2 separate regions of the Homo sapiens genome follow, and region 1 is linked to region 2. The links are contacts of gene promoters, found by promoter capture Hi-C in blood cells and fetal thymus (Javierre and others, 2016). All regions are on one chromosome and are shown on one strand. Each heading gives the region's core, a stretch centred on a gene start or on the middle of the fragment in contact. The rest is flanking DNA. Distances are from core to core; before and after follow the strand shown. Region 1 overlaps GBF1 (golgi brefeldin A resistant guanine nucleotide exchange factor 1). Region 2 holds the start of ELOVL3 (ELOVL fatty acid elongase 3).

Region 1 (6,225 bases), core at 3,288-5,787, 110 kb after region 2:
ACAAACAAACAGGACTTGCCTTCCCTCCAGGCTAGACTGTCTGCATTCATGTGCATTTACTTCCAAATGGTACTTTGCATTTAGAATCATAAGTTTTAGGGACCTTAAAGAATCTAGTTAAATTACTATCACCACCACCACCTTCCCCAGGAAATCCCAATGGATGAGGAAACTATGGCCCAGAGAAATGAGGTGTTTTTGCCCAAGGTCACACAGTTAATGACAGAATCAGAATTGGGCCTAGTGCATTTCTTTATTTCATATCTCCTGTTGTATAGGGCAGGGTCTATCTGGGTTTGACCCTTAAGCCCAGGCTAGGAAATACAGGTATGGGACCTGTCCGTTGACAGTGTTTTCTGGAATCCGTTCCTGAACCAAGCCTAAATTCCCACCTGTCCATTCATAGGTCTGGAAAACTTTGAAGCTGATAAACGAAGGTATGGGAGGTTTGGCAGTTATTCCAGAGGCTTCTGGCTTTGCCAAAGTTTAGCTTTGATTATTCTTTGGACCACTACCCCTCTTTTTTTTTTTTTTCTTTTTGAAACAGGGTTCCACTCTGTTGCTCAGGGTAGAATGCAATGGTATGATCAGGGCTCACCTCAGCTTCCTGAGTAGCCAGGACCACAGGTGCGCATGCCTGGCTAATTTTTTCATATTTTGTGCAGCTGAAGTCTCACTATGTCGCCCAGGCTGGTCTCGAACTGCTGGGCTCAAGTGATTCTCCCACCTCAGCCTCCCAAAGTGCTGGGATTACAGGTGTAAGCCACCACACCTGGCCTGGACCACTACTCTTGATGTCCTCTAGTGACCAAAAAGAACACAGCTTCTTCCTACGGAGCTTACCATACATCAGACATTTTTGTAGATCACTATCAATCTTGACTTTTGCAAGAAATATATTCCTGGGGTGTACAGCATAGTCAGAAAAGTAGCATATGAGACCTAACACTTTCTCCTAAAATGGAATGTACAGATACAGACAGAAAAGCCTAAAACCAAAAAGCTTTTGTCGTCTGTCTCTGGATACAGAAATGTTAGAGGGGTAAATGAACTAATTTCTTTTTTTATCATGCTATGATTTATTAGTCTGTTATACATGATCCATCTTGTGAATGATGGCATTCTGTCTCCAGGAACATGGGCCAATATTTGCAGGGTAAAGAACATGCATGGGAGCAGGCTGGTGACCCTCTAGAAAGCAAGAAGAGAGAAGTAGACTCTGAGGGCAAAAAGGTCGAGACAGGCATTTCTGAAGCCAAATGGTGTTGAAATAACATACCGCAGGCCTTTTTCCTTGTCAGCGTAATCCAATTGAGAATGCCCAACTGCCCCTGATAAGAGTCACTCAGGAGTGAAGAGCTTTGCTACCAGGGAAAGCAGCTTATGTGTGCATTTTGGCTCAGGAATGTGCCAGCCCAATGCTGGCCAAATGAGAAAAGGCTGCTGCGGCCTGGAGAACACAGCCTCCTGGGAGGATGGTGGCTGTTCCCTTGTAGCTTAGGAGAGTATTCTGTTTTGTCCAAGGGCAGTGCTTGAGGCCACATGTTGAGGCCTTTGACATAGATTATCAGAGATGGTAGCAGCTCTGACATGAGAAGAGAAAATAATGTCAAGATTCAGCTGGGCGCAGTGGTTCATCCCTGTAATCCCAGCACTTTGGGAGGCCGAGGCGGGCACATCACGAGGTCAGGAGATCGAGACCATCCTAGCTAATAACGGTGAAACCCCGTCTCTACTGAAAATACAAAAAATTAGCCAGGCGTGGTGGCTTGCGCCTGTAGTCCCAGCTACTCGGGAGGCTGTGGCAGGAGAATTGCTTGAACCGGAGAGGCGGAGGTTACAGTGAGCCAAAATTGCACCATTGCACTCCAGGCTGGGTGACAGAGCGAGACTTCGTCTCAAAAAAAAAAAAAAAAGTCAAGATTCATCCCCATTTTGGAGAGGTCACCTCATCATTTGGGAAGACAAGAGGTGTGGGACATCTGCAGATTCTCAGACAGACATTGGGCCAAATTGACACTTCTGTTTTAATGTCATAATATGGGGAGTGAAGCACCCTGCCCAGTCGTATTGAGTACAGTATGAGCAGACCACCACCAAGACATCTCCAAAGGGCTTCACTTTGCTTTGGGTTGAAGTGACTCATGAGCCTCTCCAGAAATAATTTAATAATTCTTGTTGTAATTTGTCACTGACTGTCCAGAAATTGGATCCGGATTTGATTCTGGAAGGATCCGAAGTGTTTTCTCCAATGGGGGGTTAGATTTCCCCTCCTTGTGCCCTTTTTCCCCCAGATGACTGGCTCATCTTAGAACATGGACCAGTCACCTTCAGAGCACCTCTCTACCTAATCTGCACTCTGTGTTTACTGGACTGTTTGTGCCTTGAGGTTGACAGTCTTCCAGGGCGGGAATTTTGGCTGCTTGGCTGGGGTGTCAGATGTCTCCTTGGTTGTGAAATTATTCAGCCTGCTTACTATGAGCAGAATCATGGCACTTTTCTCCTGAAGGACTCAGGCAGTTTTCACTCTTCTGGAGAAGATCCAGACAATTGAATCTCAGTTCCCAGCCAGGCTGAACCGTGAGATAGGACACCAGAAACCTTTCTGTTCTAGCCTTGTAGGAAGCAGTAAAGTCGGATGGCTACGAGCAGAGCTTTTGGAGTTGGATGGACCTGGATTTGATTCCTGTTTCCACTACTAGCTAGTGCTATGATCTTAGCTGGTGGGGACATCTCGTTATCCTTTCCAAGCCTCATTTTTATCTTCAAAATGGGGTTAATTATGAAGAGTGAAGGTATGTAAAGTGCATAGCACTTGGCATGGCGCAGGTAATAAATGTTAATGAGTACTTTAATAATTCATTTTATTAAAAGGAAGCCTGTTCTTTCTCTGATACCTTGGAGAAAGCTGAAGCCCTCAGAAATTAAAAGTGCTATCCCAAATTGTACCGTAAATATCAACCACCCGTTATCTCAGTATTTATCCTTAACTTGTGTTTGTTTTATGGTTTAGGAGTCAAAGGTAGAATTTTTATATATATATTTACTTAAATCTTAAGAAATGAACTGGTGGCCAGGTGCAGTGGCTCATGCCTGTAATCCCAGCACTTTGGGAGGCCGAGGCAGGCAGATCACAAGGTCAGGAGATCAAAACCATCTTGGCCAACATGGTGAAATCCCATCTCTACTAGAAAATACAAAAATTAGCTGGGTGTGGTGGCATGTGCCTGTAGTCCCAGCTACTCGGGAGGCTGAGCCAGGAGAATTACTTGAACCGGGGAGGTGGAGGTTGCAGTGAGCCAAGATCACTCCACTGCACTCTAGCCTGGTGACAGAGCGAGACTTTGTCTCAAAAAAAAAAAAAAAGAAAAAAAAAAAAGAAAGAAATGAACTGGTATACAATATAGAGAACACTGGACTGCTGTGACTCTAGAGCTAAAAACTAGAACAATATCTTAGTTATCTTTATTATACACTTTATTCCATGCATTGTACCAAGTGTTTTACATGCATCAAATGAGATAGTGTGTAAATTGCTTAATACCATGCCTGGCACATAGTATACGCTCAGTGAATGTTAGTTGCTATTATTATTTATTTTAAATGTAATTTATTTAAATTATCTAATACCCATTTACAAGTAATAAAATTAGAGACCCAGAACACTTAAGTAATTAAAGTCACATAGCTATTAAGTTGCAGAACTGGGATTTGAATCGTCCACGAAAGCCCATGATTCTACCTAGAGCCCTTAGCTTCTAGTCCTGGTTCCAATACTAACTGGCCTTGTACAAATTACTTAACTTCCCTAAATCTCAGTTACCTCATTATAAATTATTTTCAGGCCCTATTTTAGCTGTAATATCCTAGGATTTGGAGGATTTTCCTGAACAGTCAAAAATTATGACTTATTTTTGTAGGGTATGGTTTAATCTCTGAGTAACAGTTCCCTAGAAAACTGATGCAGCCTACAAACTGCTGCTTATACACAAAGAGATATATACAGAAGTTGAAAGTATTTTAAAAATTTTATAACAATGTGACAGTAGTTACATGTATGTTGATTCTAGTAATAAAAAAATTGGACTTTATGTTTTTAAAATTTTTCTAGTAATTAACTGTATTTTATAAAACTATGGGTCTGCACGGGCTGGGCGAGGTGGCTCACGTCTGTAATCCCAGCACTTTGGGAGGCCGAGGTGGGCGGATCACGAGGTCAGGAGGTCGAGACCATCCTGGCTAACGCGGCGAAACCCCATCTCTACTAAAAATACAAAAAGTTAGCCGGGCATGGTGGTGGGCGCCTGTAGTCCCAGGTACTCGGGGGGCTGAGGTGGAAGAATGGTGCGTGGGGGAGCTTGCAGTGAGCCAAGATCTCGCCACTGCACTCCAGCCTGGGCGACAGAGCGAGACTCCGCCTCAAAAAAAAAAAAAAAAACTATGGGTCTGCAGTGGATTGACATAAAGAAGAAAAAACTGCTCTTCATCACAGATAATTTGACAAGCACTATTCTAGATAACCATCTGAACATCTCACCAGGATTATAAATTCAAATTTGTTTGTTTTTAAATTACATGTTTACAAAAAGTTACCCCTTAAATTAGAAATATCCTTACTAAAGGCTGGACGTGGAGACTCACGCCTGTAATCACAGCACTTTGGGAGGCTGAGACAGGTGGACCACCTGAGGTCAGGAGTGCAGTTTGAGACCAGCCTGGCCAACATGAAGAAACCCCATCTCTACTAAAAATATAAAAATTAGCTGGGCCTGGTGGTACATGCCTGTAATCCCAGCTACCTGGGAGGCTGAGGCAGGAGAATCGCTTGAACCCAGGAGGCAGAGGTTGCAGTGAACCGAGATCACACCACTGCACTCCAGCCTGGGTGACAGAGCAAGACTCTGTCTCAAAAAGAAAGAAAGAAAGAAAGAAATATCCTTACTAGTGATGCCCCACTAGGAGTTCAACTTGCCCCCAACCCCACTTGTTGCAGAGTTGCTCCTGTTAGAGCTTCTCTTATGCTCCTGGCAATCAACAGTTGAACCTAGAGAGCAAAACTCTTGTTCTCCCTAGACAAAACTCTTTAAGGAAAGTTAACTTTATATATCATGATTCTCTTTTTTGGAAGAGGTAGGGAAGTGACATGATAATGAAGGTTCCTGGTGGGCTCATTAAAAAGTTTAACCCTTCTAGTTTTTCATCAGTAGGTTTCTATAAAGCACTGACTTACCAAATGAAAGTACTGGAATGAACATATCTTAGCAGTCATAGATTCCAACAACCTTCTTCTTTTTTTTTTTTTTTTTTTTTGAGACAGAGTCTCCTTCTGTCACCCAGGCTGGAGTGCAGTGGTGCAGTCTCGGCTCACTGTAGCCTCTGCCTCCCAGGTTGAAGCAATTCTCATGCCTCAGCCTCCAAAGTAGCTGAGATTACAGGCACGTGCCACCACACCAGGCTAATTTTTTTTGTATTTTTATTAGAGACATGGTTTCACTATGTTGGCCAGGCTGATCTGAAACTCGTGACCTCAAGTGATCCACTCACCTCGGCCTCCCAAAGTGCTGGGATTAGAGGTGTGAGCCACTGCGCCCAGCCGATTTCAACTATCTAATTTGACAGATGAAGGTCTTGGGTATCATATATCTGGCTATTGATAGGAGTGAGACTAGTCCATTGACTGAATTGTATGCTGTGTGAGGGTTACACACAGAGCCTCGGCTGGGTGCGGTGGCTTACACCTGTAATCCCAGCACTTTGGTAGGCCAAGGCAGGCGGATTACCTGAGGTTGGGAGTTTGAGACCAGCCTGACAAACATGGAGATACCCCGTCTCTACTAAAAATACAAAATTAGCTGGGCGTGGTGGCGCTCATCAGTACAGTGATGAGAGAAACCAAGAAGATCTGAATAATGGAGAGACATACCAAGTTCATGAATTGGTAGGCACAACATAGCAAAGATATCATGTCTCCCCAAATTGATCTATAGACTCAATGCAATTCCTTTCAAACTTCCAACAAGGCAAGTTTGTCTTAAATTGAAATGGAAAGGCAAAGGAATTGGAACACTGAATGATATTGGAAAAAAAAATGAAGTTGGAGGAATCACACCACTGTTATTAAGACTTAGTATAAGCCGGGCATGGTGGCTCACGCCTATAATCCCAGCACTTTGGAAGGCCGAGACGGGTGGATCACCTGAGGTCAGGAGTTCAAGACCAGCCTGG
Region 2 (5,898 bases), core at 645-3,144:
TGACATAAGCAGGCGAGTATGACTATATGCATTTTTTTCTGAAGTAGAATGTGACAAAGGCTAGGTAACTTGCCTAAAATCACATGGCTCATTAATGGGGGTGCTGGGACTTGAACTTGGGTCTTGTAAGACCTAGATGGCATTATTCTTGTAATATTCATTCTTTTATTTATTCATTCATCCATAGACATGTATTGATCACCTTTTGATTAGCTGTCAGGCTATATATGGAGCCATCAGGAACCACTGAAGGTTTTTTTTTTTTTTTTTTTTTTTGAGACGGAGTCTCACTCTGTCACCCAGGCTGGAGTGCAGTGGCACGATCTCTGCTCACTGCAAGCTCTGCCTCCCAGGTTCACGCCATTCTCCTGCCTCAGCCTCCCGAGTAGCTGGGACTACAGGCGCCTGCCACCACGCCCGGCTAATTTTTTGTATTTTTTAGTAGAGACGGGGTTTGACGGTGTTAGCCAGGATGGTCTCGATCTCCTGACCTCATGATCTGCCCGCCTCGGCCTCCCAAGGTGCTGGGATTACAGGCGTGAACCACCGTGCCCGGCCGAACCACTGAAGGTTTTTAAGCAGGAAAGCAGAGCTGTTTTCTGGATGAGCAAACAGAAAGTAGTGGTTTTCCAAGTACAGTCTGAGACAACCTATAGGACCAGAATCTCTGCAGTTGAGGCTCAGGAATCTGGTAATCAGCCAGGTATAGGAACTCTTTTCTGATTGCAATGCAGTGAAGAGCAGAAGCACTGTATTAGAGAAAGAGGCAGTGCAACCAGGTAACGTGACCAGGTGAGAAGTGATGAGGTACAGAGACAAAGAGATGCACTTTTGAGTCACTTAGATGGCACTGATAGGACTTCCACTACACCCTCGCATAGACAGTGGCTGAGGTTCAGGAAATAGAGCTGGGGTTCCTACTTGGATCCTCTGGCTCTAGAGCTTTACTGCACATAGCCATTTATACCCACATCTTGATTTTAATTATTTTATATCTATGTTTCTTAGCACTTTTTGCAAATTTCCACCTTATCTCAAACTGCCCTCAAGCCTTGTATTTCTCCTTCGCTTTCATAAAACCTAGGAAAGAAATAAGGGACAGCCAAGTAAAACTTTTAAAAGTTTTAGAACATTTATTTCTTTGGGGCTGGTTACACAGGCGAGAAAGAAGTAGATTTGGTTAGGGAGAGAAAACAACAGGCCTTGGGGAGATACACTGGCTCTCCCCCTCCCTAAACCCTAAGAGGCCTCCAGGAAACCTGAAGACAATAATTCCAGAAGCCCAGAGGGTGACCCCATTTCCTCTCTCCATGGTTATTACTGTCAGTCTGGAGCAGTTCAGGAATTCAGGAAACTATAAAGAAACCACAACAGCCTCAACAACCCAAACATCAACATCAACAACCTCAACAATAAAACTCCTTAAAATTCATCTCCTTCCACCCACTCACAACCGCAGACTCGAAGCTAGGAGGTGGAAGGGACTACAGAAGCTCTGCGTTGCCCAGGTTAGTATTTGCTCATCACAGGCCTGGGTTTCCCAGGATCTCAGGGAGCCTGGAAACTGACGCCTCCATTTCTGGGTGGGAGCACCAAAGCCTAAGGACACCTTTCCTCTCTCTTCACTGCTAAGCAGGTCAAGATTAAAGCAAACCGAGGCAAAGGCCACGGTTGACAGTTCCAAGGGAACCCGCAAGGCCGCACAGGATGGGGTGGACGTTTTACGGGAGAAAAGGCTGGGGAAGTGGGCGGGCGATGGCCTACGACGGGACTTGGGGCGGGGTGTGCGAAACGCCTGGCAGGCGGGCCCTTGAGTATGACCAATCAGAATGCGGACTGCGTCCCAGGGGCGGAGCAGAGGCGTATCTTGGTCGAGATTGGATAGCGGCGGGGCGCAGGAAAGAGGTCGCGCCAGCCCGGGCAGGCAGCTTTGCAAGTCCGCGTTATATATCGCAGTGGCTGCGCCCGGGATAGCTGGCTGCGCCGCCGCGCACATGCCTAGGTTCGACGCCCTCCTCCCTTTGCCCAGGAGTTCCTTCTGTCCCGGCTCTGTTCCGTCTCGCCCCGAGGTTCACGCCATCCTCGGAGCCCCAGCCTTTCACCCAGCGCCTCCAAGCTTTGGACCTTGACTTCTGCAAAACTAGATGGTCACAGCCATGAATGTCTCACATGAAGTAAATCAGCTGTTCCAGCCCTATAACTTCGAGCTGTCCAAGGACATGAGGCCCTTTTTCGAGGAGTATTGGTGAGACTTTGGGAGAGGGAAAGGCCATGCCAGGGCCCCGGGGCCGGGGCGCGAGGGGGTGGCATTGAATGCCCACAATGATTTTCTTACAGAGCAGAGTTATGGGACTCCCTTGTACTGGCTTCACACTACCTTTGTCCGAGGTGCAGGTAGTATGTGGCACCTCAAAGAGATTAGAGCTGAAAGCAAGCAAGCAGAAATAAGAGGATGAGGGAGAACGTGGAAATATACAGAAGTCAAAGAGAGCGTGTAGTGAGAAGGGTCTTGGAGGCGTGAGGTTGATCTGAAGCCTTACTAGATGACTTCCCCGTCCTTTGTGGCTGTGTGTGCGCGCGTGTGTGCACAGTGCAGGGCCCGGGGGACAGCCTGCCCTTTACAATTATCCCATCGTTCCCCAGGTGCTCCACCGTTCCTGCTGTGGAGAAGGAGGCGAAGTCAGAGAGCTCTTCCAAGCTTTCCCCAGGAAGAGCTCTCTGGCTTTGCCTTAAAGCTCCCCAGAGGTTTTGGAGGCTGACTTTATGCTCCAACCAATTTGCCATACCCCAGCCAGGGAGAAGCTATTGCCACATTCTTCTTACGCCACAGCCCTGGTATGCTTCTAGGAGCCCCAACCAGGGAGAAGCTATTGCCACACTTCTTACACCACAGCCCTGGGCTGCTTCTAGGCGCGGGCCAGACAGCCGTCACCCACCTCTAACCCCACTGAGAGAGCAATAATCACAGAAACCTTGGACATAGCTCCTGCCCTGTGCTAGATACTTTGTATACGTTAATACCCCCAGGAGAGATGTAGTATTCGCGCTCTACAAATGAGGAAGCCAAGGCTCAGAGAATTAAGTTGGTTTTTCCAATGTCACATAGCTAGTAAGTGGCAGAACTGGGACTCCAACCCAGAGCACTCACCTGGAGAGATGAGTGGGCATTTCTCTAATCAGCACCCACCCATGAGCCCATCCCTCTGCCTTCTGCTTGCCAGGGCAACCTCATTCCCCATAGCCCTGATCTACCTGGTTCTCATCGCTGTGGGGCAGAACTACATGAAGGAACGCAAGGGCTTCAACCTGCAAGGGCCTCTCATCCTCTGGTCCTTCTGCCTTGCAATCTTCAGGTAAGACCCCATCCCACTCCCTGCCTCTTCTCTAGATCTTAGACCACCATTCTATCCCTTGAAGCTTTCCCGATTGCATCAACCTCCATCCTGTCCCCAAGTTGCCTTGTAACACTCTCCCCATCTCATTCTCGGCTTTAGTTCCCCTCCCAGCCTTCACCCTCTTCTGTTATATTATCCTGTTTTCCTTCTCTTTTAGACCCCTACCTGGTGGTCTCTGCTTTGTCCCTCTTGCCTTCGTAGAGTCTGTACTCGCAACTAATTTCTCCAGCCTCTAATAGTGTCACCTCCTAACACCCTCTCTCAAGACCCTCCAATAACTTCCCCATATTTTCTCCCCCAAACTCCTTCAGTCTTCCCCTATCCCTCTACACATCTCCTCCCAGGCTCCTAACCCCTCCCAAGAACCCCATTCCTTAACTCAACTTTCAGTCCCATCCCCCTGCATTCCCTGATCTTTCTCCAGCCCTCGTCTCCTCTAGACTACTGATTGGATCTACCAGATTGGCTTCAGGATCTCAGGAGCTTTGACCCACCCCCTGTGGACAGGTGGGGAGGTGGTAGAGCTTGGAACACAGTAACCTGGCCAAGCCGGGGGAAGGGTGGATTATTGGTGCCTGGGGATGACACTTACACCATCTTCCTTTGTCCCATTTCAGTATCCTGGGGGCAGTGAGGATGTGGGGCATTATGGGGACTGTGCTACTTACCGGGGGCCTAAAGCAAACCGTGTGCTTCATCAACTTCATCGATAATTCCACAGTCAAATTCTGGTCCTGGGTCTTTCTTCTCAGCAAGGTCATAGAACTCGGTGAGTGGCAAAGCTTTGTCTTTCTGGTGCCTTGTGAACTGCATCCTTCCTCAGGGCCCTCCCTTCACCCATCCCATGGAGGGTCTCTTTCCTACCCTTGGGTCCCAATAATACCTCTCACCCAAGCCCCTCTACAGATTCTCTGCCACAAAGACCCCCTTCCCTCCCCTGAGAATTTCTCCCGTGTCCCTACATCCAGTGCAGAGGGTGGTCCCAGCACTGGGTGGTATGCCAACTATGACTCTCCATCTCCCAGGAGACACAGCCTTCATCATCCTGCGTAAGCGGCCACTCATCTTTATTCACTGGTACCACCACAGCACAGTGCTCGTGTACACAAGCTTTGGATACAAGAACAAAGTGCCTGCAGGAGGCTGGTTCGTCACCATGAACTTTGGTGTTCATGCCATCATGTACACCTACTACACTCTGAAGGCTGCCAACGTGAAGCCCCCCAAGATGCTGCCCATGCTCATCACCAGCCTGCAGATCTTGCAGATGTTTGTAGGAGCCATCGTCAGCATCCTCACGTACATCTGGAGGCAGGATCAGGGATGCCACACCACGATGGAACACTTATTCTGGTCCTTCATCTTGTATATGACCTATTTCATCCTCTTTGCCCACTTCTTCTGCCAGACCTACATCAGGCCCAAGGTCAAAGCCAAGACCAAGAGCCAGTGAAGGTTTGGAGAGAACAATGAAGCTCCAGGCTCTCTCTTCTCCAGGGCACCAAGAGGCTGGGCTTAGTTTTGGGAGAATGATTAGGTTGCCTTACCTGCATGGTTTCCCCAGAGGATGTGTGCCCCAAGGTGGCTGGAATTTTTGACAGACAAGAAGGGTGACCTTGGGATGGGGGTGTGGTCTGTTACTTTAATGTTTCTGTTTTTAATGTGAAGGCCAAGCAGGCCCTGGGATGGGAGTGGGGCGGAGGAGGGTCCTAAGAGCTGATTATTTAATTTCTATCCAGAAATCTTTCTTCTTCTTGCTCTGTTTTTTTAAATTAAAGATTTCAACAAAATTTTGAGAGTTGGGGGATTTGGGGGGAAAGAGGGCTGCTGTGATGGCAGGAGGCTGCTACCAAGGGGATGATCTGCAGGTGGGACGCCTGAGGGTGTGTGGAAGGGTGAGAGGCACACACACAGACACTGAAAGAATCCTAGGCCTGGTAGGCACTTAACAAATGTCTGTTACAGACCAGAATTTTATTGCTGTTAGAGACCCAAGCCCCTCATAGGAACAGTGAGAAACAGGTGCAGAAAGGCGGAGTAACTTTATCTAAAGTCATAGGCTCCCTGAATAGCAGAGCTGACACCTACAAGGAAGCGTTGGAGACCAGATCTACCAGCTAGCCTCCCTGAGACCACGAGGTGGCGCCGCAGCACCGGCTGTGGCCGATGCCAGCCAGGTAGCCGGTTTCCCACGTCCCCCGCACGCACGCACCTCTTTGCTGCAGGAATCCCGGGCTGCCCCGACCTGGAGTAGGGGGGGTGGTGAGTGGGACTGAGTCCCTAGAAGCCTGGACCCTCACTTCGTTCCTGTACATCCAGCTCGCCTGTAGACAGTGGGGGAGGATGAAGGGAAGAGGACTCAAGCGCAACTTTGAATCATCACGCCTTCGACAGTCCGCGCACGTTTATTTCATTTATCTTTGAAAACGAGGGAGGGGAAGCCTGGAGAAGGCGGGATGGGCCAAGGGTGAGTTGGCCCCCGGGGAGCTGGTCCCTGTTCCTG

Evidence for each region. Contacts are between HindIII fragments. The CHiCAGO score rates a contact against its expected background, and 5 or more counts as called.
Region 1: a fragment that was not itself captured here is called in contact with the fragment with the promoter of ELOVL3 in region 2 in 6 of 17 cell types (megakaryocytes, endothelial precursors, activated CD4 T cells and 3 more); the score reaches 7.7 in megakaryocytes.

The regions. Positions count from the first base shown.
Region 1 is chr10:102,332,949-102,339,173 of GRCh38, forward strand. The region is part of intron 3 of GBF1 (golgi brefeldin A resistant guanine nucleotide exchange factor 1); the gene reads left to right. Among named protein-coding and RNA genes, the nearest start is that of NFKB2, 60 kb to the right of the region's middle. The HindIII fragment of the contact is 7,072 bases long and covers 1,002-6,225 here.
Region 2 is chr10:102,224,405-102,230,302 of GRCh38, forward strand. ELOVL3 (ELOVL fatty acid elongase 3) reads left to right here and starts at 1,895. Exons shown (of 4, transcript NM_152310.3): 1 at 1,895-2,245; 2 at 3,222-3,353; 3 at 4,013-4,164; 4 at 4,421-5,185. The coding sequence starts at 2,145. The coding sequence ends at 4,848. It overlaps PITX3 (paired like homeodomain 3), which reads right to left. Exons shown (of 4, transcript NM_005029.4): 4 at 5,785-5,898. RefSeq lists silencers at 1,877-1,926, 5,454-5,622. The HindIII fragment of the contact is 5,656 bases long and covers 1-2,114 here.